6 separate regions of the Homo sapiens genome follow, and all the other regions are linked to region 1. Evidence: promoter capture Hi-C in 16 types of primary human blood cells and fetal thymus (Javierre and others, 2016). All regions are on one chromosome and are shown on one strand. The core of a region is centred on a gene start or on the middle of the fragment in contact, and the rest is flanking DNA. Distances in the headings are between cores, read along the strand shown.

Region 1 (4,376 bases), core at 621-3,120:
ATGGTTGAACAGACACCATTGCTACCCTACGGAAAACCTAGTGTTTTGTTTAGTATGTGCTACCATTTGTGAAAATTCATGTGCCAAGTTGGACATCCTAGATCCTTTAAGTCCTCCCTCAATCTCATGTAGTGGGTATTCTTTTGAGCATTATTCAGAGGAGATAATTTGCCCAAAGCCAGACAAGTATTAAGTAGCAGAGTCAGGATCCAATTCCAGGGCTGTCTGATTTCAGAGCCTTTTAGCTACCCTGCTAGGTCTTGCAATAGTAATGGGCCCTCTCATTGCTTACCTGTCAGGCCTTAGAATTCTTAGAATTTAGCTGCCTCTACACCATTGTCTTGGTTCTCACTCCAGGGTTAGGGGCTGCCTGGTCAACACTGAGGTCTTTAACTGTGCTGAAGCATTAGGATAGAAATTTAGTCTAATAAATACTTACTGGATACCTACTACATGCAAAGTCCTGAAGTGGCTGAAGGAGACACAAAAGCAGCAAGCTCTGAAGGAACTTAGGTAAGGAAACAAGACAAATACAAAAACTTAACAGGGCTAATTACAGTACTAAAATACTATGATTCCACATGTCTTGTCCTTTGTTCCTATGTTTATCCCACTGCTAATTATCTTTAAAAAAACTAAATGAAATCCATCCATTATTTAAAGCTTCAGAAAAAAATGCATTGCTTTCAGCAACCTTCCACCCTAAAACTAGAATTAATTTACTTTCCTATTCCTTGTTGTTTGCACTTCTCAAACACTAAGGAGGATTTTTTAACATTTATTTTATTTTTTTTTAAGAGAAGGCCATCCGAAGAAGAGGCACAGATATAAGAACTAGTACATAGATGAAAGATACAGTACTGGGATGACAGAACTTATAAATTATTTTGTCAGGACTGTAAATTAGGAAACTCTTCAAATTGAGAGTCAAAGGATAAAACGTAGTAGGAATCAAAGTGCATTGGCACGTATATTTCTAGAGCATATACTTAGATGGGGTTCGTAGGTTAGCTTGGAACAAAGGACTGAGCAAATGTTACTTTTTTATAGACAACAACAAGATATGTGATGGATCTGACATTTTCAGACGCTATACAGTCTCCGTCACAATTATTGTTTCAGATCGCATTCAAGAATTATCTTTAAAAATGTAAGTTTGGGCAGAAAAAAATAAACCATTAAATGACCACTGCCAAGAGATAAAAGTGCACTCTTAGGTGAGTGAGGAGTCAATAAAAAAGAGTAATTTAAAAAATATTATTGCTCCGTTGAGAACAAGAATTTGGGAATGACTCTGGCTTGTGAATACTAGCCTATCTGTTATACTTTCACACACAAAATACTTTCACACACAAAAAAGAATGTGCTAGATTACTACCTGTCTTTGTAAGTAAAAGCTGTGTTAAACAAGCGTAAATCCTAATGACAAAAACCATATAAAATAAGATCGCTAAAGGCACTTCTAATTGGGATGGTTTTCTCTGCCTTAAACTCTGAATTAACCAGCACAATTCACAGTAAATCTTCCTGTTGGCAGCAGAGCCTTGGAGAAGAGGTAGCAGAAGAGCGTGCCACTCCTCCTCTGGCGATGGGCACGTTCCCCCTTGCTTTCTGGTCCTCGTTCTTCCACCTGGAGGGAACCTGAAGTCGAACGTCAGTAGCTGACAGCCTCCCCAGCACTTTCCTTACTCTTCTTCAAGCTGCCAGTAAAACCCGGAGAAGTGGACTACTTCAGATTCCGCACAACCCAACAGCCCCAAACCCAAAGCCCCGAGGCGGAGGGAGTGGTGGCGGAGAGGGGGTGGGGAGGAAAAGGGGCGGCAGTTACTGAGCATGTGCGAGGAGTGGCGCATGCTCTGTGAGGCCGGCAGCTTCCCATTGCGGGTAGCCCCGGCGGTGGTGGCGGTGGTAGCGGTGGTGGCGGCGGCAGTGGCGGCACCGCCTCCTCCTCACATTCCCGGGGTGGCGGGGTTAGATGAGCGGCCCCAGTAGCGGCGAGGGCGGCGCGGGGGGGAGGAGGAGAAGAAGGAGGAGGAGAAGGAGGTCGCTGTCTTTGTAGTCTCCCTGCTGCGGGAGCCAGAGGCCGCCGCCGGAGCCGTCGTCGTTGGAAAAGGGCTGTGTGTGCGCGCGCGTGTCTGCCCGCCCGGCCCGCGGGGACGAGGCGGCGGCGGCGGCGGCGGCGGCGAGGATGATGATGTGCGCAGCGACTGCCTCCCCCGCCGCCGCCTCCTCGGGGCTCGGCGGGGACGGATTCTACCCAGCCGCCACCTTCTCTTCCTCCCCGGCGCCGGGGGCGCTGTTCATGCCGGTTCCCGACGGCTCCGTGGCTGCTGCGGGGCTGGGGCTGGGGCTACCCGCCGCGGACTCCCGGGGTCACTACCAGCTGCTGCTGTCAGGCCGGGCCCTGGCCGACCGCTACCGGAGGATTTATACCGCTGCGCTCAATGACAGGGACCAGGGGGGCGGCAGCGCTGGACACCCAGCCTCCAGGTGCGTCCCCAGGGTGCCCTTCCTTGCGCCCCATGCCGCCCTTCCTTGCGCCCCATGCCGCGCGTGCACCCGCGTGTGTGTGTGCTTGCGTGTGTGTACCTGCGCATTTATTGAGCTTTCAGTCCGCTCTGGATGTCTGTTGGCAGGAGCACTTATCGAGATAGGAGGGTGCGGTGGCTGCAGTTTCTCGTGTGTGTGTGTGTGTGTGTGTGTGTGTGTGTGTGTGTGTGTGTCTGCCTGCCTATGTGGGGGGATAGTGAGGGGTGGTAGGGGAACCTGTGATGCTGGAAAAGGCGATGGTGCTGGTCGGCTGTGACACGTGTGTGTATCGTTGAGGTAGGAGGTGGCATGGGTAGAGAGGGTAAGAGGATGATACACGAAGAGAATTGCAACAGTGGCAAGGGAAGTGGCGTTTTCAGTGTCTCTGCCGCAATGTTATTTGCACGTGCCGCCTCTCCCATGACATTCCTTCCAGCCCTTTCCACCTCCCTTCAATCTGCCTTTCACCAAGAGGAGTCATGGTATAGATTGGTTGAGTTTTGGATAAGCAGGCCCGAGGGATAGGCGTGAGGTTTGCTTTAAAAAGATTTATGAATAAGGGACGCAGATGGAGATCTGTGTGGATGCGAAAGGTGTCTGATAGAGATTTTTAGAGCTGTACTTTGATAACCGGGCCTTTTGGTCTTCTAGAAATGAGGTTGCAGTTACTCTTGTGATCTGATGTCCCATCGGCCATTTCTCTTCATCCTCTGTTCGATTTCCTCTGTTACTTACAGGCTTTAGAGTAGAGAGGGTTTTGTAGGGAAAAGGGGAAAACTGCAGAACTTCAGAATATGACAGCTGGTACAGCGTTCAACTGCCACTAGCTAGAAAATCTGAATAGCGCGTAGATTTGTCTCTTTTACTTGGGTTGGCTACACCTTCAGCTTCCTTGATGTAGATGTTCAGTTGGTTTCATTTTCTTTTTCTTAAAATGTGGGTGCTTTTTTTTGCTGAGGGCTCTCCTATTGTTTTCTTTTCCATGCCCTTACATGCCGCATACCCTGAAGGTTGGTGACTGACTTGTTTCACCAGCTTTGACAGTGGTAATTGGGAGTTGGCTTCATCTTTTTTTTCCCACAGCTTCTTGCAGTACATGGGGAAAACATAGTAGGAAACTGTCAAAATGAGTTAAAGAGTTTACTGTTATTTATTGAATGTGCAATTTATTAGGCAATTGTTAGGTGTCTTTTTCTCCCATTATGAAAGGGACGAGGCTGTAAGTCAGGTATTTGTAGCTTATCACTAGGTATCATGGCTTATCTGTTGGAGACAGTTGTAAAGCTGGAGCTTTGTTCACACTTTTTCTAGGTTAACCAGTTTTCTCATGTCTGTGATTGTTTACAGGATTGGGCACAGCAGTAGTTTTACCATATGGATGTAAACGTGTGTAACTATTTTTTGCTATCTGAACTGAAGGCCAGAATGGCACAAGTCTGTTTCTTGCTAATGCTTTTGAAAATAGCACAAAACTACGTGAGACAGTTTGCCCTGATAATTAGGTATAATTTTGATCTGTAAATCTCTAAATTATGGCACCGCAGGAACATCTTTACAAACTCCTCTCAAAGAATTTAAATTTATTTTGTGTATGGTTTCCAGACTTATGCAATAATTTTTGACTTGTATATTCCTGTTTTGACTTCCTACTACTAGTGTAATATGATTTCTGTGTATCTAGAACTATATTAACGGTTTTAGACAAAATTAACATAGATTAATCATATAACATTTGTGAATGATTTTTTAGCCCTTGGTCCATTTTTGTACAAGCCGTCAATGAAAAGTAATGAAGAATTAGTTCAAGTATTTCAAGAACTACTCATGGAAATCAGCATTATGTTATG
Region 2 (4,376 bases), core at 1,140-3,639, 180 kb before region 1:
CTTTGTACATGACTTCCATGCTTAAGATCACATCATGCTTCAGGGTGTCTGCTAGAGCTACAGCCAACACATCCGCATTCCACAACCACATCACGTCCACATTCCAGCTAGCAAGCCCCAGTCATTTCTCCCCAAGCTAAGGGAACTTTTCCCCAAATTCAACCCAAAAACTTTCATTTGCATATTATTAGCCAGAATTTAGTCCATGGTCACACGCAGCTACAAGAGAGGATAGAAAAATGGGGCCTTCAGCTGGATATTTTGCCACCTGGTATAGAATCGGGTTTCTGCTATAAGAAAGAGAAGAAGAATTAATACTGGGTGGGCAATTATCAGTCTATGAACACCTCCCATTGTGATATTCACCATTATTTTATACATCTTCCATTATGTCACATTTTCTTTGTTTTCATGTCAATATGGCAAACTACAGGATAAATTTTTAGATATGAAATGTCTATATTCATGTCTAGTCCCCTGATGCTAGCTCAGGCCAGTCACATGGTAATTGCTCGTGTAAGGTTGAGGAAATTAAGTGAACTGATAGGCAGCCATTCGAGATATTCCAAATGAGTACAATTTACATTCCACACAAGTATCATTCAATCATGGAAGACTTTGAGAACTGACTTCTCAAAGTTTAATTTGGTTATAAAATCTGAGTTAATTTTGGCAGTGACAAAATTCCCTGATGATTATAGGTCATAGAATGTAGAAGATATCATACAACAGAAGGTTTTAACAGAAAAATATAATTCTTTTCCTTAGCCTCAATGACTCTGCCCTCTTTTGTCTCTAAATGCTGAGAGTTCCTTCATTTCAATGTTAAAACATTTAATGTTAAGTGATTTCTAACCTCATGTAACCAATCTATAAGGAAGTGGGTTCAGGAACAATTTAAATGGCATTCTCAACAATGAGCAGCATAATAGGAAACAGGAAGCAAAGATGTCAGATTTCTAAGTGATGTTTCATCTTCTCAAGCATATGATTCTTGGCAGAACCCAACCGATCTTCAGAAACGAGAAAAAGGTCAATCTTTCTATGTGAAAGCACTTAACTGGAAAAGAATTTTCATCCACAGGAAGAAAAAACCTTCTGTAGTTGTGCTTTTACTATGTGTCAGGCAAGTTGCCAGATACTAGAGGCAGAATGGCATAAAAGAAAGAAAAGACCCTTAATTTTATGGAATCTTTAGCCTCATAGAGTTCTTCCAGCTAGTAAGTAGTAGAGTATGTTTTCAAAGATTGTCTGCCTTTAAAACCCACGCACTTCACTTGATCTTAGCCAAAAGGCCAGGAAGCAATAACTCACTCACTTGACCACTGTATTTTTGGATTAAGAATTAGTCCTTCTTATACATTTCTATCTTAAATTTTGGGTCTACAACCACATGAGAGCTTAAAATCCTAAACCGTTACATTCAGTACTTATGATTTCCATTGAAAAATGAAATTGGTGGTAATGGTAATTGAACTGGAATAACTTTTTTAAGTAAAACAGAATGTTCATTGATATTTTCTCTCGTTTTAAAGGCTCACTTCACTGAGTTCTATATAAATAAGTTACCAAAATTTTGGAGTTCTCAGATTGCTCTATGATCATCTCAACATAGCAAGCAACACTCAACTGCAAAGCAATCATTTGGATATTCTTTTTCTACTTGACAGCAAAAATTCATATTCAATTTTTTTCCCTAAGTTACCCAGAAAAGTTGGCACTGTGGGCAGCCTCAGCACAGTTGCCAGACATACTGGGGAAAAAAAATTACCCGAAAGAAAAGGTGGGGCTTCAGAAGTAAAACAAAAGCCATGCCAAGAAAGATAAACACACACCCTCCTTTGAAGATTATTGCCAAGTGTCTTTAAAATCATGCCAAAGAAAGCATCCCATCCAGGTTTACTTCATCTCAATCTCTCCTGTTCTAACTCTAAATAAGCAGGCTGTCACTTGCAGCTCAACAATTCTACCTTGAGCTTTAAAAAGGTATTAAAGAACTTATTGCCTGAAATCAGAGCACTGTTTTTACTGTGTTGCCTGATTCTTATCTGATGGAGAACAGTCAAGAATGGAATATAAGGCGTCTGGTCACATATTTGAGACCACAAAAGATCAGGGTGGGACAACCTCACAGTACATCATGTGTTCCCCAGATGGTCCATTGAGTACCTTCTTCTTTGAGAAAAAAACAAAAGCATCCCTTACTGGTTGTCACACGTACATTCTCTAATTAATAATAGGTCTATCACTATGGGAAGTTGTCCAGCCTGAAATGTGAGATCATCAAACCCTAGAAAAGCCATAAAAATATCATTTCGCTATGTATACCCGGCATTCTGCCAAAAGAAATTGTAAGTGCCTCTGAATCACTGCTCCAGAGCACCAGCCCACAGTGACCACAAAGCATATGCAGTCTCACCTAGAATGATCAGCAAGATAATAATTCTCCCTGGTAATAACACTTGCTGTGGTTGCAAGCCCTGATCATTGTTCTCTTTTTTAAAACTAGGGGAGAGACAAATGCTCATGAGTAACTGTAAATGTGACAAAGGATGATGTCTCCAGGTCAAAAATGGACTACGTAGTCCATTTTTTATGCATTTCCCCCTTCTTAAAAATTACTATGAGTTACGCCTGTAATCCCAGCACTTTGGGAGGCCGAGGCGGGCGGATCACGAGGTCAGGAGATCGAGACCACCCCGGCTAAAACGGTGAAACCCCGTCTCTACTAAAAATACAAAAAATTAGCCGGGCGTAGTGGCGGGCGCCTGTAGTCCCAGCTACTTGGGAGGCTGAGGCAGGAGAATGGCGTGAACCCGGGAGGCGGAGCTTGCAGTGAGCCGAGATTGCGCCACTGCACTCCAGCCTGGGCGACAGAGCGAGACTCCGTCTCAAAAAAAAAAAAAAAAAAAAAAAAATTACTATGAGTTATTGCATAACAAAGTAAATTAAGTGATTATATTAAGTCATTTTAGTTAAAAATTGTTCCAACTTGAGCCTAATGCCTGCCTATGATTATAGTTTGTAGCCCTATTAAATTCAGGACCACCCCCCGCCAAGCCAAAAAAAATTTTTTAAAAAAATAAGAACTAGGCAGAAGACATGGAAACAAACACAATCACAATCATCTGCTTGGTTCTGAAATCTGAGTATGACCAAGAAGAGGTGTTTAGCGGTATTGGTGGGATCGCGGAGTACAGGGGATTCAGGACTTTATGTCCTAAAAAGGAGCAGTAGTACCCAAGTTCTAAAAGGGACAATAAGAATGAATCTAATCAATTTCTTTTTAATGAATAAATTAATTGAATTGGACATCTCCATATAAAATACCCATGCACTTTTCACTTTGGGGCACTAGAGGGAAACAAAGTAAGAAAAATAATGAAGCCTTGTGTATCAAGCTGCTAAAAGAATACTTTTTTTTTCCATGTTCATGAACTCTTCTGTTACTTTTGGTGGGAAATGGTATTCACATGGTAGCCTAGTTTAAAAAAATACCATTTTGGATTTGATCTCACAATACTTCAAGCCCACTTACCAGGAACAAACCTACAGCCAGAACCTCAAAAGGTCCATTATCTTTGGTTAAGTCAGAAAAAAAAAAAAAAGTGAAGCAGTAAGTCAGCTTTGAGAAGGATGCAGGTGACAGAAGCCTATTATTTAAGGCTTAATTAAATTCTTTTTAGGAAATTACTTTCCCAATTACATGTAAGAACACATTTTTCAATGTTATGAGGGTGGGAAGAGGGAGAGGTTCAGAAAACAAACAAACAAAAAGCAGTTGGGTACTATGATTAGTAACGGGTGACAAAATAATCTGTACACCAAACCCTCAAGTAATGAGTTTACACATATAACAGACCTGCACATGTACCCCAGAACCTAAAAGTTAAAATATAAAAAAAAGAGCAGGAGGCAGCAATCCACTTCTGACTTTAGCTTCCTTTTTAAAGTGCACCAATAGGAATGTCACTGCTTTCAGAAATGGAAGAAAAAGAAGCACTATAATTTAGTACACACATTTCATTGCCATCTTCTCATAAATAAAAAGTGTTCTGGGATTTCTTTTGTTTGTTTGTTTTATGTTTTTTGAGATGGAGTCTCGCTCTGTCGCCCAGGCTGGAGTGCAGTGGCGAGATCTCGGCTCACTACAAGCTCTGCCTCCCAGGGTTCACGCCATTCTCCTGCCTCAGCCTCCCGAGTAGCTGGGACTACAGGCGCCCGCCACCACGCCCAGCTAATTTTTTGTATTCTTAGTAGATATGGGGTTTCACCGCGTTAGGCAGGATGGTCTCGATCTCCTGACCTTGTGATCCGCCTGCCTCGGCCTCCCAAAGCACTAGGATTACAGGCGTGAGCCACTGCACCCGGCCGTG
Region 3 (4,376 bases), core at 1,100-3,599, 180 kb after region 1:
CCATTCTCCTGCCTCAGCCTCCCGAGTAGCTGAGACTACAGGCACCCGCCACCACGCCTGGCTAATTTTTTGTATTTTTAGTAGAGACGGGGTTTCACCGTGTTAGCCAGGATGGTCTCGATCTCCTGACCTTGTGATTCGCCCGCCTCAGACTCCAAAAGTGCTGGGATTACAGGCGTGAGCCACCGCGCCCAGCCACGGCGGATTTTATCAAACGGTGGAAGTGGCTCTCAGCAGAAGGGGAGCTAGAAAGGGCATGGTGTGAGAAGAAGGTGATATTTCCCTGAAGCCCAGCCGTCTCCAGCCATGCTCCTCTCCTAAGTGGTGCCATCTGAGGTTAAGCCGCGCGTCTCATCAGTTGCTGCTTCTCCTCTTGGTATTCGCCACTTGTCTCTTTGCTAGCTGAAGTCTGGGATTTATAGGGGCATAGGGTAGGGGGGCAGGGCTGGCCAAAAAGGCAACATTTAGGCGGAATACAAGGATAAACTGTTCTCATTTAGGGTCATGGTTTCCAGGCTTGAGAGTGGGGCCTTTGCCAGGGAACCACCTTCTCCTATCCAGTATATCCCTGACTCCTGTCTGTATCATCTTCAGATTTTTTAATTGTTTAAAGTTTAAAGCTTTTTATGCTGGCACATGTGTTTGAGTTGAAATTTTAACCATATACCTGTAAACTGCCATTTTTTAAATATAAGAATGGGTTTTTAATATTTCCAGGGGTTTGTGTCAGTCCAAATACTGATCTCTTGTAACCTCACCTGAAGATAGTGGTCACTTAATGGAACATATTTGTCACCTGTGCCTAACATTATATAAATAGCGAAAGTCTCAAACTACTGATTCCATAGAATCGCGTTGTTAAGAACAATAAACATAAAGACAGTCTGTAGTTCTGAGGTAGCTCTCAATTACTTAAAAATACTATCACTTTTATCTCTGCACTTTTTCTATTTCTGTGACAATTCTGTTGAATTACCTGTTCTTGCCAACCACAAAACTATTGTCTGTAGGGAGCAGCAGAAACTTTGAGTAAAGCTCAGAATGGTGATACCTGCTGAAGAACTAAAGTGGTATTCAAATTGTGTGTACATTTGTGGTTGCCTAGGGGTCAAGTGTTTTTCTGCCAATGCATAAACAAATAAAAACAATGTTTTCTTATAATTTCTGGGAAATATTTCTAAAAAGTATTTTTCAGAAATAGTAGTTAGTAGATGAAATAGTAGAGTTAGTAGATCAAAGATAGTCCCGTTTTGTTGAAGAAATTGAGTTGCAAAGTTATAATTCCTGGAAAATATATCTAAAAGGTATTTTTATAAGACAATTTGTATTTTCAGTATATTAACATCCATTAACGAATCTGTTTTTTGCATCTATACTGTAGAGTTAGTGGACGAAAGATAGTCCCATTTTATTCTTAAAGAAAGTGAGTTGCAAAGTTTAATTATTTAATAGATTGCTTAAATCAAATGTTGATGTTGGTGATAGGGCTGTCTAATAATATTCTTTCTTCACCCGAGTAAAGAAACATATTTGGGCTTTAGGTATAAGATTTGTTTTATTAAGTGTTAATTTTTGAAACTTCTATAAATAGAGTACATTTTCTTCTGTAGAACAGTGCAGCTCAAACTGACATTAGTGCTTTAAAATGTGCTGAGATTGTGGGAAAGCATTTACACTTGCATTACCTGATAAAATAATTTGTTAGTCCCTGCAATAACTTAATGTAGATTCATTCCACTATCTTTTCCTGTACTTTATTAGTGGTGCATTTGTTTTTATGTTTTGATATCTCTGATTATGTATTCCAAAACTATGAGGCCTTGTTTTTACACCGTGTTCATGGTTCATATTGTCAACCCATCTTGAGGTCATTTGAACTCTTTTCAATAAGCCTTTGAAGGGAATGCCAGAGACAGACCAATGCTAACATAAAGTATACATAATTATGAGTTTATAATAGTAAGTTGCTTATTTTGATGTCAGTGACAATTAAATAATAATGGTATTTGGTTTCTATAATACCATGTTTAGGTGGAAGTGAAAGCTGTCCCTGTTTCTCAGAAAAAAATGTCTTTACAACAAGATCAAGCAAAGAAACCTCAAAGGATTCCTGGCAGTCCTGCAGTAACAGCTGCATCTTCTAATACTGACATGACTTATGGAGGGCTGGCATCACCAAAGCTAGATGTTTCATATGAACCAATGATAGTGAAGGAAGCTCGATATATTGCCATAACAATGATGAAGGTAATTTATTTTACTTATCAGAAAAATTTTAGTTTTCAGCATTTGTTTATTTAACCAACATTTCAGTGATTCAGATGCAGACATGAAATTGTAAGTCCAAAGAGCATTTGATGGATATTAAATTTGCAGCAACACTTATTAAGATGATGTTATCCTGTCTTCAGAGAGGATTTTCATTGGTTTTTGGCAGATGTCCAGAGGGGATCACCAATTACAGATCAAGTTAATCGAATCAGAGATACAGATGGATTAGGCTGAGTTTCAGTTCCTGTGAAAGTACTTGTCTACTTCTGACCAGGAACAGTGGCCCACACCTATAATCCCAGGGCTTTGGGAGGCCAAGGAGGGAACATCACTTGAGGCCAAGAGTTCGAGACCAGCCTCAGTAATGTAGTGAGACCCCATCTCTACAAAAAAATAAAAATAAAATAAAATTTCTAAGTACTTGTCTATTTGCAGTTTACTATTCTTGCTAGAATGTATCTCTTCAGGGTTTTGGGGTTTACCTATGCCCCCTTCAATTTTGGGTTCTCTCAAATGCCAGATGTATCTCCTAGAACTCTTTGGGATTTTTAGCTCTCTAATACCTTTAGACATTTAAAAAATATATATTTTGGATGTTTTAGTTATCTTCAGAGGCAATGTTAATCCGAATTATCAAGGTAGTCATTATTTGAAGCTGAAGTTTGTAATTTTGGCATTTTCAGAGAGCAGTGGTGAGCCATTGAAGGCTTTTGGGTAGAGGAATGGCTTGATTAGATTTGTGTTTTGTAACGATTGTGGTGGAATATGGACAGTGTAATTGGGCAGATGATCAAGAAACATGACTTGGTTTTAGTCTCTTTAGGGGACTATTGACTTAATTTGGTGAGATATGCTGATCAGTTGGACTAGTGAGTTGTCAATGAGGATAGATTCAATAGAATCAGTAGAACCTGGTAGCTAGTGGAGGTGGAGTAAAGAAGAAAGGTAGGAAATAAAAGATGAAATTCACATATTGAGCTTGTGTCCAATTGATAATGGAAGAGGGGCAGGTTTTGGTTGAGAAAGATAGCAGATTCAGTTTTGGATGAGGTGAGTTTTAGATACTTCTGAAATACCTACGTGAAGATGTATAAAACAAAGTTAGATGTACAGACCTGAGTGATCACAGTCTGACCTCAAGAAAAGGATTCAGGAATCATTAGCACTTACATTACTTATGAAGTCATGGGAATAGATGATACCTTCTATGGTGAATGAAGACAGAAGTTCCAGGATAGGATCCTAAGAAACACCAATATCACTGAGTCTCAGACTCTTCTCTACATCAGAAGCATCTGGAGCACTTACTTAAAAAAAAAAAAAGATTTCCAAGCACCCAGAGATTTAGATTCAGTGGGTTTGGAGAGAGGTTCAGGAATTTACCTGAAACAAATATGCAGTGATTCAAATTCAAAACCTAAACTTTGAGAAATACTGATTTACAAGGTAGATAAGAGAAAAAGAAAGGAAAAGGAAAAACGATTCACATTGGTAAGAATACTAGCCAAAGAAGCAACACATAATTAAGGGAATGGCTGAAGTGAGTGTAGATAAGCCTTTCAAGATGTTTGACTATAGAAAGAACCAGAGGAAATGGAATTGAGTGAAGGCTTTGGAGTATGGGGTCTTATTAATAGAGATAGAGTTACATATTTGAGTGCTGATTAGGAGGTAATTGAGAGAAAAAACAATAAAGATACTCCGAATATAAAAATAGAATCTAGAGCTCAAGTGGTAGCATTGGCCTTAAATAGGAGGAGGAGTAGTGCTTGTTTCATTCTACCAGAAGAAGGAAAAGAAAGCTTAATACAGATGCTAGTAAATTTGTAGGTTTTGCAGCCAAAGGAATTATTTAAAACAGTAATTATGTGTTTTGGGATGGAAATGGAAGTGATGAATCTTAGGGTCAAGGTTTTGAAACAAAGCGGATAAAATGAAATTGTTATTCTAGAGATTAAAAGAAAGCACCGATCAGAAAAGATTTATTAGATGCCTTTGAATAATCAGTTGAAATTGAAGATTATTTGTGAATAACAGTGTGAGTCATATGAGCATGGATAAAACAATCATTTGGATGGATCTAGCATTAAAATTTTGCTAGACCA
Region 4 (4,376 bases), core at 1,282-3,781, 160 kb before region 1:
CTCTACAATCCTTGAATTCCTCCACACCCTTCAACCACTCTCTTGCAGCATACATTTTTCCTCCCAAACCTAGCATTCAAGGGGGCTATCACCCGAGTGGACACAAGTGATCATTTGATTAACTGTTTTGTTTTGTTTTGTTTTTTCTTCACAAATTTCGATGGATGCTCAGGTTCAGTTTCTTAATATCAACCTGATTTCCAATTCCCCTTAAACCCTACCAAGACAGAGAATAAAGTACAGTTTCCCTCCTGTTTTCCTGAATAACTGTTGCCTACAACTTCTGGCACAATTTTCAGTCACAGTCAGGACTTTTAGATGCAAATAATAGAAACTGACCCTGGTTAATTAAAGCAGAAACAGAAACTATTTAAAAGATGTTGGATAGCCCATATATTCTCTGGGAGGGCTAGAGAAGCAAACTTATGGATTTTACAGCTGGAAACAATTCCCACAGTCAAACCACAAGACTTATCAGGTAAAGACATTGGAACTCCTGCTGGACCCAGACAGCACAGCACCTTCCAGCAGCCAGTGACCAGACCCTGGGTGCTGCTGCAGGAACTCTACTGCCACTGCTGCCTTTGAGAACCAAATATGGTTGCCGCCTCCACCCCCAAATGTTGTCCAAATATATTCTGGGTGGTGTGTGCTTCCTTGTGTCCCAGTTTCTCATAGTCTCGAGAGAAGATGGATCTGATTGGCAGAGCCCAGCCCCATGCCTTAACAGCAAGAACCCTGGAGAGGTGAGTAGCTGGATGGCATCAGAGGGAGAGCATTTCCCAAACATAGAGAGTGGGTTCTGATACCTGGATGGCAAAAAAGAAATTGGTAAATCTCCATCATACTGGCTTTATGAGAAATGATAAGGTCTGTGAATACAGACAGCCCCAGTTTCAATTTGTGCACTTTCTTCACTTTCTATTTGACATTGGGCAAGTTCATCTCTCCGAGCTTTGTTTTTTCTCGTAAGTAAAAACCTTCCCTTGCAGAAATTAAAAAGTAAGTTATGTGGATAAGATAATTCAAAAAGTGAAAGCTATTACTTGAAAAGATAATTGAGATATATATAATATTTTGTGAGGCCTCATCTTGGTAAAATATTCAACTTTTCATATATTTATGCCTATTCTCCCTAACTAGAGGATCATGTTTTATACTAGTTTGTATGTTTTATACTAGTTTGTATTTCCGCAGAGCAGTAAACACACAGATACATACGTGTGCACTTAATAAATGAACTAATATCCCAGATTATAAAATAAAATGAGAAATAGCGAACACTGATGCAAAAAACTGAAGAGGATACAAAAAAATGGAAAGCTATTCCATATTCATGGATTGGAAGAATTAATATTGTTAAAATGTTTATACCACCCAAAGCAATCTACAGATTGAATGTCATCTCCATCAGAATATCGATGACATTCTTCACAGAAACAGAAAAAAAAAATCCTAACCATTTACATAGAACCACAAAAGACCCAGAATAACCAAAGCTATCCTGAGAAAAAACAACAAAATGAAAGGAATCACATTACCTGACTTCACAAATTACACTACAGAGCTATAGTAATCAATACATCATGATACTGGCATAAAAACAGACACATAGACTAATGAAACAGAATAGAGAATCCATAAATAAATCTATACATCTACAGTGAACTAGTTTTTGACAGAGGTGCCAAGAATGTATATATTGGGGAAAGGACAATCTCTTCAATAAGTGGTACTTGGAAAACTGGATATCCATATGCAGAAGAATGAAACTAGACCCATATGTCTTGCCATACACAAAAATAAAATCAAAACGGATTAAAGACTTAAATATAAGACTTCAAACTATGAAACTACTAAAAGAAAACTATTGAGAAACTCTCCAGGACATTGGTCTGGGCAAAGATTTCTTGAGTAATATCCCACAAGCACAAGCAACCAAAGCAAAAATGGACAAATGAAATCACATGAAGTTTAAAAACCTCTACACTGCAAAGAAAACAATCAACAAAGTGAAGAGACAACCCACAGAATGGGAGAAAATATTTGCAAACTATCCATTAATCTCTTGTCAATACTTTACAAGAACCCCATTCTGTGGGGTTCTGTGGGGTGTTGTTGACTACAGTCAACAATAATTTATTGTACATTTAAAAATAACTAAAAGTAATGGATTGCTTGTAACATGAAGAAATGATAAATTCTTGAGGTGATGGATACCCCATTTACTCTGATGTGATTATTATGCATTTTATGTCTCTGTATCAAAATATCTCATGTACCCCATAAATATAATATACCTACTATGTACCCACAAAAATTTAAAAAAAAATCATTTTAATGAGCGACAGCAATGCTTCATTCTATAGCAGTGAATCAAAGAATATATGGATATAGGGTATGTTCCACAGCAAGTCTGAAGTGGATTTCTAGGGGGCCTCCATTGATGACTCCTTTTATGGACTGATGCTTGTGTGTCCCCAAACTTTACATGTTGAAACCTAATCTCCAGTGTGACGGTATTTGGAGATGGGGCCTTTAGAGGGTGATTAGGTCATGAGAGATAGTCTTTGTAAATGATATTAGTGCCATTAAAAGGTACTGAGGTATAGTGCTGAACACCAGGTATTCTGCAGAGGCACAATAAAATTTTAAAGAGTTTATTTGAGCAAACTGATTTGTGAATCAGGAGCTCCAAACCATGAGTGGTTTGGGGGCTTCTTTGGAGAAGCATTAAAGACAGACTTTTAGAGAGTGAATACAGATGTAAAACAATTTGGTTATAGTTATACAGTTGCCTTACTATTTTGTCTATCTTGTTGGAAAGTCCCTAGTTATATAGTTATATAACTATAATTTAGTTGGCAGCTTCTGATTGGTTAGCCTTAAGTTTCATTTCTGTTTAATATAGGCATTTATAAGAAATAGCTCAAGTTAACTTTTGGCTATATTTGCAAATCAAGCCGGGTTAAGGTCAGTTACGAAGGCTAACTGGCTTTGTCTGCTCAGGGGTTCTGCAGGCCTGGCTTTCTGTTTTAATTTATTTTAACAGCGCCCTTATTAAAGGGACCCAGAGAGACCCCTTACCCTTTTCACCATGGGAATACAGCACGAAGACAGTCATCTACGAACGAGGAAGCAGACTCTCACTAGACACTAAATCTGCCAGTGCCTTGACCTTGGACTTCCCAGCCTCCAGAACTGTGAGAAATACATTTCTGTTGTTTATGAGCCACCAGTCTAATGCAGTTTGTATAGCAACCTAAAAGAACTGAGACAACTACAAAATGACAGATGTCTTATTCTGCATCACACTGGGCTCTAAAAGACCACCAAGTGTGAATAACCCCAACTGTACATCACTATTATAAACCACTCAATAAAAAGTTTCAACTATCTGAACTAAGTCAACCCAAGGAAAAACAAATGGCAGTATCTGCAAATAATTAGTAACAAGAGTAGTATGTTTCTTGTACGCATAAAAAATTATGCCACTAAGACTAGCTTTGAGTTAATAGTAATGCACTAAGAAATATTTTAAAGTATATATAATTTTCTATTTACTCATTCACAATAATGAGGAATGCATCCACTAGATGATTAACTTCCTAAAGTATAAATCTGATCATTTCCCTATCTTCTTCAAATTCTCCACTGATTCTCAAAATAGACCCCTAGACCTATGAGAATGGAGATTATACATGAAACACAGGTAAATGAAACCTGATTTAAATATTTTTAAATTTATTTTACACTTAATCAGTGATTAAATGTAAATATGTGAAATATTTACAGTGAAAATAGTGGTTTTTTCCGACTGTCACTAACAAATATTAAAGATTCTATCCTCAACGGAAAAAACGAAAAATGGCCTCCTAGTTCTCCTACTACAGTATGACCTTGGCAAGTCACTTGACATCTCCAAGTTCAGTTCCTACATTGCAAAATGAAGAAATTGGACAACATCCTTTCCAGCTCTGAAAGGTTGTCATCTCTACTTTGCCAATGTCCACTGGCTCCATGCTCCACGCCACCCAAAGTGGGCTCCATTTCCATTTGCCTTGATCAATCAAGGTAATCAGCCACAGGAGATAAAACATAAATTGTAAAGTTGCCAATTCTGAGTCATATAAGCAAAAATAATCTAGTTACTCAGCATTTCCATAATGCTTTATTATATTTTTCAAACAATGTCTGGCCATCAATCAACACAAACCATAGTCATAAACCATAAAAGAAGACACAGAGACCAATGAAATTAATGTTGACAAAACTCACCCAACAGGTCAAAAGCAGAGAAAATTACATGTTAACATTATGAGTGAATGATCATACTGTGTGAGCCACACGCATTTCTGGTACAGAGTTGTATAACA
Region 5 (4,376 bases), core at 558-3,057, 160 kb after region 1:
CCTTTTTTTAGCTGATGACATTCCAGAACTGCTGAGTTCTTCCAGTCTGTTTTCCATGCTGCTCCCCCTTATTATAGCCTACATAGGACCAGTAGCTGCTGCTATTCCCAAGGTGTGTAATTTAATTCTATAACTTTGAATGTTTTTTTTAAATATCTTTTTTAAAAAAAGACTTTGTGTCTTGTCTTTACAAAAACTTGCATCTTTGAGGCATCTGGGATATAGGTAACAAGCAGAGATAGATCTGCTAATTATTAAACTTCTCTCTTCTTAGTATTGTTTACTGGATTGCTGTGCTTATTTGTTGGCTTTTTTTTTTTTTTTTTTTTTGAGACGGAGTCTTGTTCTGTCACCCAGGCGGGAGTGCTGTGGCGCGATCTCCGCTCACTGCAAGCTCCGCCTTCCGGGTTCACGCCATTCTCCTGCCTCAGCCTCCCGAGTTGCTGGGACTACAGGCGCCCGCCACTGCGCCCGGCTAATTTTTTGTATTTTTAGTAGAGACGGGGTTTCACCGTGGTCTCGATCTCCTGACCTCGTGATCCGCCCGCCTCGCCCTCCCAAAGTGCTGGGATTACAGGCGTGAGCCACCGCGCCCGGCCTGTTGGCTTTACATTTGAAGAATCTGTGAATGGGAAATAGATTTTAGCAATTTTAGGAATATGATATGTAAGGAAAGATTATGTTAACTGAGGTTTTTCACATTTATGAGGTTGATGCCAAATGGTCTTCATTAATAACAATAGCAATGTTAAAGGATAAGAGTGTTTTAAAATAGTGACATATTCAAGAGATGGAAGAAATGATAAACTATTGATTCTTTGGCATAATTAAGTAAAACCTGATTTACTTCAGATCATGAAAAAACAAGTTTTTAAAAATATAGATTTAGATATTGTCATGTAACATCTAAGATAAATCTTTTTTTAATCAATTGAAAGATTTCTCTTTGGACAAAAACTTAACTAGTGGAAAATTTAGATGGAAATTGTTATTAGAGTAACCAACAATTATTGTAATGCATAATTTTAGAACCACTTTCACGTGTATCTCATTTAACCATATTTTTATATGTGTACTAGGTGGCTGTAGAAGTCTTTGGCCTTGTCCAACAATTGCTTCCGTCAGTTGCCATTTTGAATCAGAAGTATGCACCGCCTGCCTTCAACCCTAATCAGTCGACAGATAGCACCACAGGAAACCAGCCTGAACAGGGCCTCTCTGCTTGTACAACCTCCAGTCACTATGCTGTCATAGAGAGTGAGCACCCGTATAAACCTGCCTGTGTGATGCATTACAAGGTAGGCACCGGTTCTTAGTGTGATTCGAATGTAAAACTTGGCATGAGGTTCTCTGATGATATCTTAAAGAATGCCTGGCCTGTATTTACAAGTGTATTTTCTTTTATAGTATTTACATATAGAGAATCAGCAGGTGATTAGGCACTGTTGGATATATAAAATAATTTAAGATGGAATTTTTATCTCAAAGATGATAAAATTTTATTGGTTTATGAGAGTTGTTCTTAAATCTTCCTACAAGTATAGTGTGGTATATAATGCTAAACTTCATGCTGTGATTTGCAATAGTAGTAGATATAAGCATTAACAATTTTAAATTGTATTTTTTGAACTAACATTATTTGTACCACAGCCTGAGCTCTGAAAATTTACAACCCCAATGTAAGATTTAAAGTAGTCTATACATAATGTTAAAAAAACTATGTATAAAATGTTTATAAATTTAATGTTATTAGAGAGTATTCAAAATCCGTATTCTTTGTTTTTTCATTGTATCATGCAAATTAAGGAAGAGAAGGATAAACTTGTATTTTGTGTGCTTGTAAAATATTCCACTTTTCATGGTAGAAACTATTAAGCATATAGAAGTAAACAAGCTAGTACAGTGCACTTGTTTATCCATCATCCCAGATTCAGCAGTTTCAACTGTTAGTCAGACCTGTCTTATTTATTCCCAACCTACTTCCTAACCTCCTATATTGTTTTAAAGCACATTTATGATATTTATTGATACAATGTCTCCAAAATATAAAGACCCTTAAATATAACCATAGTATTATCACATTGAAGAAAACAATTTAATGTCTGCAAACATCATGTAAATTTTTAATAATTTGAGTTAGAATCCATATAAAATCCATATATTGTGATTAGTATGTCTCTTAAGTCCCCTTTAATCTTAAGTCCCTTTAAATCTATAAGTCTCCCTCTGTCTCTCTCTCTTTTTGTTCCCTTGAGTTCTATTTGTTGAAGAAACTGGATCCTATGTATTTGTTAGATGGGAGCCTCTTCAGCTTACCTGCTGGTTCTTTCAGACACCCCTCTTGCAGTCATTCCTAGCTTCCTTGCTTTCTGGTAGGATAAGATGTTCCAGGCTCCCTTTATATGTTTGATGCCTCAGACTTGGAACTAACCATTTTTTCAAAGTGTCCTGATTTCTGTTATACATACACACACATGTTATATTTATATATGTATATACATAAATGTATATATGTTTATGTACAGATAGATTTATGTGTATAGTTTTTTAAAGATAAAATACCTCATGAGTTTATACTGTTGATACTAATTCAAACAAGGACCACAGACACACCTCAGTCTCCTTTCTCTTATATCTAAAATTCCTATTAGTGACACTGGGAATATCAGAATTAGAAAATCATTAAATTATTTCATTTGGTGTGTGTGTGTGTGTGTGTGTGTGTGTGTGTGTGTGTGTGTGTGTGTGTATGTGTGTGTTTTGTCTTTGAAGTATATCCCATCTAAGTGTATGTCAAATTACTGTGTTTAAAGTAAGTTGGAATGCTCCCTCTGCATGATTATGCATTCATTGGATATACACTTAGAGAGTCATTTATTTTATCTTAGATTTTAGGAATTGCTTTTTAAATTTGGATTTTGTTTTATAATTCTTTACATAATTACATACTTTGAAGTCAAATTTATGAAACAAATCTAGCTTTTATCTCTGTCCTCTTTACTCTGTTCCTCCTTCTCTGTCATAGGTAACATTTTATTCTATTTTAATTTTGTACTTTATCCTGTTGTGTCATTTAATAAAAGCATAGACACACACACACATACAGATGCAGATGTGTATGTTTGTGTATATATATATCTGTATTCATGTCACTTTGCCTGTTGACCTCAGGTGACATTCCCAGAATGTGTGAGGTGGATGACAATCGAATTTGACCCTCAGTGTGGTACTGCACAGTCAGAAGATGTCCTTCGTTTGTTGATTCCTGTCAGAACTGTTCAGAATTCAGGATATGGACCAAAATTGACATCTGTTCATGAAAATCTTAATTCATGGATAGAATTAAAGAAATTTTCAGGATCCTCTGGGTGGCCTACTATGGTTTTGGTGTTGCCAGGTAAGTTTTTTTTTTCTTCTGTTTTATGTGGTAAAATAAGTGCATTTATGTATATTTAGTAAGGGTGTATCATTGAAAATGTTTATCTAATTTTTAGAGAAATTTATTAAAGACCTACTATGTATCTGGATTGCATTCGAGGAATAAATAAGGTACCCTGGGCAAGGGGCACAGCCTGATCTGAGTTTTGGAGAAGACAATGTTTTAAGGATTTTGTGAAAAAAAGATTAGCTTGAGCAAAGCAGAGTGTTAACGTTGAGGAGTAGCTAGCTGTCTGTGTAGTTGGGTCCAAATTATAGAAAACAATGGATTAGATCTTTTATTTTCCCAGGAAGTGCTAAATTTTCAGAACTTACCTAAGGACTGAAGTCCTTCATTGTAAGAGAATTCGTAAACCACTTTCTTGTGTGAAGAGAAACTATGTTTTAAAACTTATGGTTTGTTGCATTCTTAACCAGTTAACCAGGACTACTCTTGTGATCCTTCAAACTAATAGGCAATTTCATTTCAGAAACTTCTTCTTTCCACTCTGACCTGCCTATTTGTTTGTTTGTTTGGGAAAAGATCAGAAAAAGCCACACTCCAGGGTAGAGGATTGCCCACTTTGAAAAATAAAAAGGCTAACCTCAGTATTTGACAAATAATTGAAAAATGATTGCCCATGTAACTGAAGTACTTTATTAAGCAGGGGAGTTTGATTATGAAAAAAAGTAACAATTCATTTGCGATAGACCTGTTGTTTCTAGTGTTATTTTTGGTACAGTTTCCTCAAGTAGATATAGGAACGCTCCCCGCCGCAAGTCTATTTAAGTTATGTAGTATATGATTTGTGTTTTTACCTATCTTGTGATAAAAGAGAAAGTCCATTGGATAAAAGACAGGGAAATTTTTATAAAATTGTTTTAGAGTTTGAACTCAATTCTGGCATTTTTATTAGGAAATGAGGCCCTTTTTTCATTGGAGACTGCATCAGATTATG
Region 6 (4,376 bases), core at 1,154-3,653, 140 kb before region 1:
ATTACTAAAAACAGATATTCATCCACGACATCTGTGCCAGCAACCAGTTAGTGGTTCACCAAACCACTTTGCCTTTCTTCCAAGTATACTGGTGGGCAATATATCATAGTTGTCTTTCCAGTTGGATGTGGCCTGTGACTGGGTATTGGTCAATGGAACCTAAATAGAAGTGATGGGTCCAACCTCCAGGCCTGGTCTATGACGTCCTCCTGCCCACAATTCTTTCTCTCTTATTTCCCTTTGCACCCAATGAATGGAGAAGTCTAAGGATCTAGAGGCTGAATTGCTGCCTGGAGGAAAGCTGTCCACTGGTCAGCCAACTAGGCTAGGCCTGCAAAACACGTGACAAATTAAGTTTTATTTTGGAGTTTTAATTCCAATTTTAAACTTTGAAATTTTGAAATTCTATGTGATAGTAGTTGGTCTGTCCCAGCTAATACACCAGTCTGAGAAAACCAATGTTATTCTGAAGCTCTTCATGATTCAAGCTGGAAGGGAAAAACCAAGTGGCTGAGAATTTGTGTGAATGTAGAAACCTGCTGGTTTCTCCTCATCACTCGTCCACGAAATGCCAGACTAAAGAGAGATAGCTGTGGCGGAGATACTGTGAATATTCAATTTGAAACACATTCAGTGAGCACAAACTCTGTGCCAGAAACCAACATGGAGAGTGTTCCTCTAGTCAGTCACTACTGAGGGTGATCAACTGCTCTTAACAAACGAGTAGAGACCCAGAAAAAAATACAACTTAATAAGACAACTAACTAAAGGGCTGAGTAGGAAGAAACAACCCAGGTATAAAGGAATGGGGGAGAAAGAGGCAGGGACATGAGAAGAAGGAGAAGGAGGTATAGAATGCAGGTAGGTAGCAAGGCTTGGAGAGATTCTTTAAGGCAATCTGGAGGTTTTGCAAGGGACCTTCAGGTCCTGCCCAGGAACAAAGAGGAAATAGTAGAAAGCACCAATCTTGGATCCAGCAGCATTTAATCATTAATTATCTAATCATTTAAGTATTTCATTCCCTCAGCCTCAGATCTCTCTTAAAAGAGCTAGGTTATTCCTGGTTTTGCATAGACAGTTTGCATTATAGTCTCCTAAACTGGAAACAAGCTAAAAGACTGGTCAGGGAAGTAGTTTCCCATTCTTTCCCAGGCGATGCTCCATAGTTATGCCACAAGTTACTACCTGAGTGTCTGATCAAAGTCTTAAGGGGTTTGTCACCGTTATAACTAAGCAATAGCAACCTCTGAGTCCCTTTTTTTTTTTTTTTTTTTGTCATAGTTAAGCACAGACCATCATGCAGTACCTTGGATTTCTATACAGTACTCTTGGTATGATATGAAAAAAAAATTCTGCCCTAAATTTTGTTATTCTCTGGATTTGGCTGCCACTGAGCCAGGTTGAGCAATCTATTTCTCTGAAGGAAACACCCATTATTCTGGGAAAATTTAGGCACATTCCTTCCTAGAAGAGAAAGGAAAGACTAAGTGGCCTTTGGCAGAATTTGGAGACCTAATTGTCTAAGAAAATGACATTTCACAATGGTGAAATGCCGTGGCAGTGAAAATTTTGATTTAACATCGCTCACGGTCTCCAAAAGATTCACAGTCTCCTTCCACATATATCACCCAACCCTGAGACCTCAGTTTGCTAATAGTCTCACTTACAGAGCTAGGGAAATTGCTTTGTCCGAAGCATCCTAGAGACTACCGCAGGCCTAGAACTGATGCTTTTATCAAGGGATAAATAGACAGACTAGAATCCTACTTTTCTCTTTTTTGAGTCACAGGGCCTTGAGCAGGTAAGGGGACTGTGACCTCTGGATCTCTATCTATAACGTTGCAGTAGGGTAGCTAGACAAGTCTCTTTTCTCCTTCACCCTTTTGACTAATTTCATCCTATCCAGTAGGTGAAGACAGATTGTTTGTATCCTCATCCTCAACTGAGGGGGTCTTTTAGCATAATATTGAGATCTTTCCTGATCAAAGGTGTTTGGGAATTCAGGAGCATTCTGACTTTTAGAATAATATGGTGGAAAATCACATGGGATGTCATACAGGGCCTGGGTAGCACCTATAATCAAACACTAATATTAACATTTTCAGTTAAATCTACAAATAGTCCCACATCAGGTTGGGTCCAATACTATCGCCAATGAAGTTAAAAAAACAAAGTCTTTGAGTTTTCAGAGGAGTTTGGATTTGGGAATTGCCCGCAAAGAATTGAGGAGCTCTTTACCCCTCTGCCCCCTGCTCCATAGTGGCCAGCTTTCTTCAGAGGTGGCTACAGAAGAGCTCACTTTCACCATGTGAAAAAGCACCTGACATTCACTCAGGCTGACCCAAAGGGAAGTCAAACCACTCACAAGGAAACAACTGACCCTTGATGGACTCCAGTCACATGACCGTTCCACCATGAAATTCATTCTCACCGAAATAACCACCTCCTGCGAACTCTCCATTTTGCAACAGATTTGGGAATAAAATAAAATTAAGGAATCTTGCCCAAAGCCAAGGTCACTACTGCCCAAGGTATATTTAACAATAAAAGTTCAGCCTTTCCAATCCCTGCCCCTGCCCCAACTCATGACTTACAGGACTTCTCTGCTTATTACTTTCCTGAAACTTCCATATGAGTGTGTGCTTATGTTGTATATGCCTTCTTCTTTAACCTCAACACAATGTTAAAAATACTTATTAAAAATTACTTACTTACTATTCTTTGTAAGAATTATTTTAATCATTTTATGTATGAAAAATTAAGCATTTATGAAAATTTATCTCAAAACTCACGTAATAACAGATTAATCATAAAAAGGGGATCAAGGCTGGGCGCAGTAGCTCACGCCTGTAATCCCAGCACTTTGGGAGGCTGAGGCAGGCGGATCACAAGGTTAGGAGGCAGGCAGATCACATGGTTAGGAGATCAAAACCATCCTGGCTAACACGGTGAAACCCTGTCTCTACTAAAAATACAAAAAGTTAGCCGAGCATGGTGGTGCATGCCTGTAGTCCCAGCTACTCAGGAGACTGAGGCAGAAGAATCCCTTGAACCCGGGAAGCGGAGGTTGCAGTGAGCCGAGATCGCGCTGCTGTACTCCAGCCTGGGTGACAGAGTGAGACTCTATCTCAAAAAAAAAAAAAAAAAGGTGAGGAGATCAAAAAGGGAAAAAAATTAAGGTGCTCTATAGTCTATCAGCGTATGTGTAGGTGCGTCAAGCCGTGTCTTTTACCATCATCTTTTACCATCTTTTCTTTCTTTTCTCTCCTATCTTTTACTATCATCTTGGGAAGAAAAAAAACTGTTTTAAAATAAATCTCATGCAAATTTTTGAATGAGAATCTGAATTTTAAAACACTTGACAGACGATTGTGACTTTTCTTTTAAAAAGTAGAAAAATTATTCTCACTTCAGTAGTATTGGCTTGAAATTTTGACACATAAAGGTATTCATGATTATTTTTATAACAGAAAATGGAAAAATAAAAAAACTTTTGAGACACTATCAATCTATTTTATGCACCATAAAAAGCAAAAAAAAGAGTAAGGTTTCATTAAATATTTATAAATGGACAAGAAGTATATTATAAATCAAAGGGATTCGCTTTAGCAAATAAGAAAATATTTTATAAGTATCTTAAAGTTAATGCCCAAATGTATATTTTAAAATATATTTAGTAATAAAAAGCCATGCTAATATTGCACCTTTAATGTAAACCATCATGTAGACAATCTTCCAAATGGCAGTTTTCAAAGATTGGAACATAATTTTTCTTCATCTACCTTCTATATTTGTAATTGTAAAACAAATCCAAGATGTAATTAGCTGTAACTCTATTTTATCTGAATTCAAAGACACAAGATGTTTCTCAAAGCCAGTGGCCTACCAAGAGCGAGATCTTAATAGAAGCAAAAACGAGTTGGTAACATTTTATTCCACATTAAAATACCAGAAACACAGAACTCTGGGGAACTGAAATTATTTCCCTCTTAAATTAGGAAAAGGAATAAATATGAAGATGTAGTTGAAGTCATTTTAAACTCTTTCTGTTCTTTTTAAATTTAGTATTATACTTGTGGTGAAATATGTGTAACATATATAATTTGCCATTTTAACCATTTGTAAGTGTGTGGTTTTGTGGCTTTTAGTACATTCATCACCACTATCCACCATCCCAAAACTTTGGGAAGAACTTTTTCATCTTTCCAAACTGCAACTCTGTAGCCTTTAAACAATAACTCCCCATTCCCCACTCCCCAAACCCATGGCCACCTCCATTCTACTTTCTATCTCTATGAATTTCACTATTCTAGGTACCTCAAATCAATGAAATTATATAGTATTTGTCCTTTTGTGTCTGGTTTCACATTGCATGC

Evidence for each region. The method cuts DNA at HindIII sites, captures the fragments that hold promoters and counts their contacts. A CHiCAGO score of 5 or more calls a contact.
Region 2: a fragment that was not itself captured here is called in contact with the fragment with the promoter of MYCBP2 in region 1 in 3 of 17 cell types (naive B cells, total B cells and M1 macrophages); the score reaches 7.7 in naive B cells.
Region 3: a fragment that was not itself captured here is called in contact with the fragment with the promoter of MYCBP2 in region 1 in 7 of 17 cell types (activated CD4 T cells, total B cells, non-activated CD4 T cells and 4 more); the score reaches 7.9 in activated CD4 T cells.
Region 4: a contact is called between a fragment that was not itself captured here and the fragment with the promoter of MYCBP2 in region 1, in 2 of 17 cell types (total B cells and naive B cells). The highest score is 6.4, in total B cells.
Region 5: a fragment that was not itself captured here is called in contact with the fragment with the promoter of MYCBP2 in region 1 in 1 of 17 cell types (activated CD4 T cells); the score reaches 5.0 in activated CD4 T cells.
Region 6: a contact is called between a fragment that was not itself captured here and the fragment with the promoter of MYCBP2 in region 1, in 16 of 17 cell types (naive B cells, total B cells, naive CD4 T cells and 13 more). The highest score is 29.7, in naive B cells.

The regions. Positions count from the first base shown.
Region 1 is chr13:77,324,588-77,328,963 of GRCh38, reverse strand. It overlaps MYCBP2 (MYC binding protein 2), which reads left to right and starts at 1,870. Exons shown (of 83, transcript NM_015057.5): 1 at 1,870-2,490. The coding sequence starts at 2,189. LOC127898562 reads left to right here and starts at 1,976. Exons shown (of 1, transcript NM_001414702.1): 1 at 1,976-2,059. The coding sequence starts at 1,976. The coding sequence ends at 2,059. It overlaps LOC107984564 (a long non-coding RNA gene), which reads right to left and starts at 1,919. Exons shown (of 2, transcript XR_001749930.2): 1 at 1,829-1,919; 2 at 766-1,700. RefSeq lists enhancers at 1,391-1,720, 3,391-3,570 and silencers at 1,911-2,290, 2,331-2,450. The HindIII fragment of the contact is 13,146 bases long and covers 666-4,376 here.
Region 2 is chr13:77,506,042-77,510,417 of GRCh38, reverse strand. No RefSeq gene overlaps it. Among named protein-coding and RNA genes, the nearest start is that of SCEL, 27 kb to the left of the region's middle. The HindIII fragment of the contact is 8,598 bases long and covers 1-4,376 here.
Region 3 is chr13:77,148,605-77,152,980 of GRCh38, reverse strand. It overlaps MYCBP2 (MYC binding protein 2), which reads left to right. Exons shown (of 83, transcript NM_015057.5): 47 at 2,032-2,247. Among named protein-coding and RNA genes, the nearest start is that of MYCBP2-AS2, 70 kb to the right of the region's middle. The HindIII fragment of the contact is 3,453 bases long and covers 623-4,075 here.
Region 4 is chr13:77,486,287-77,490,662 of GRCh38, reverse strand. No RefSeq gene overlaps it. Among named protein-coding and RNA genes, the nearest start is that of SCEL, 47 kb to the left of the region's middle. The HindIII fragment of the contact is 9,502 bases long and covers 1-4,376 here.
Region 5 is chr13:77,165,350-77,169,725 of GRCh38, reverse strand. MYCBP2 (MYC binding protein 2) reads left to right here. Exons shown (of 83, transcript NM_015057.5): 39 at 12-112; 40 at 1,080-1,298; 41 at 3,172-3,397; 42 at 4,335-4,376. Among named protein-coding and RNA genes, the nearest start is that of MYCBP2-AS2, 86 kb to the right of the region's middle. The HindIII fragment of the contact is 5,173 bases long and covers 1-4,376 here.
Region 6 is chr13:77,468,295-77,472,670 of GRCh38, reverse strand. No RefSeq gene overlaps it. Among named protein-coding and RNA genes, the nearest start is that of SCEL, 65 kb to the left of the region's middle. The HindIII fragment of the contact is 5,096 bases long and covers 1-4,376 here.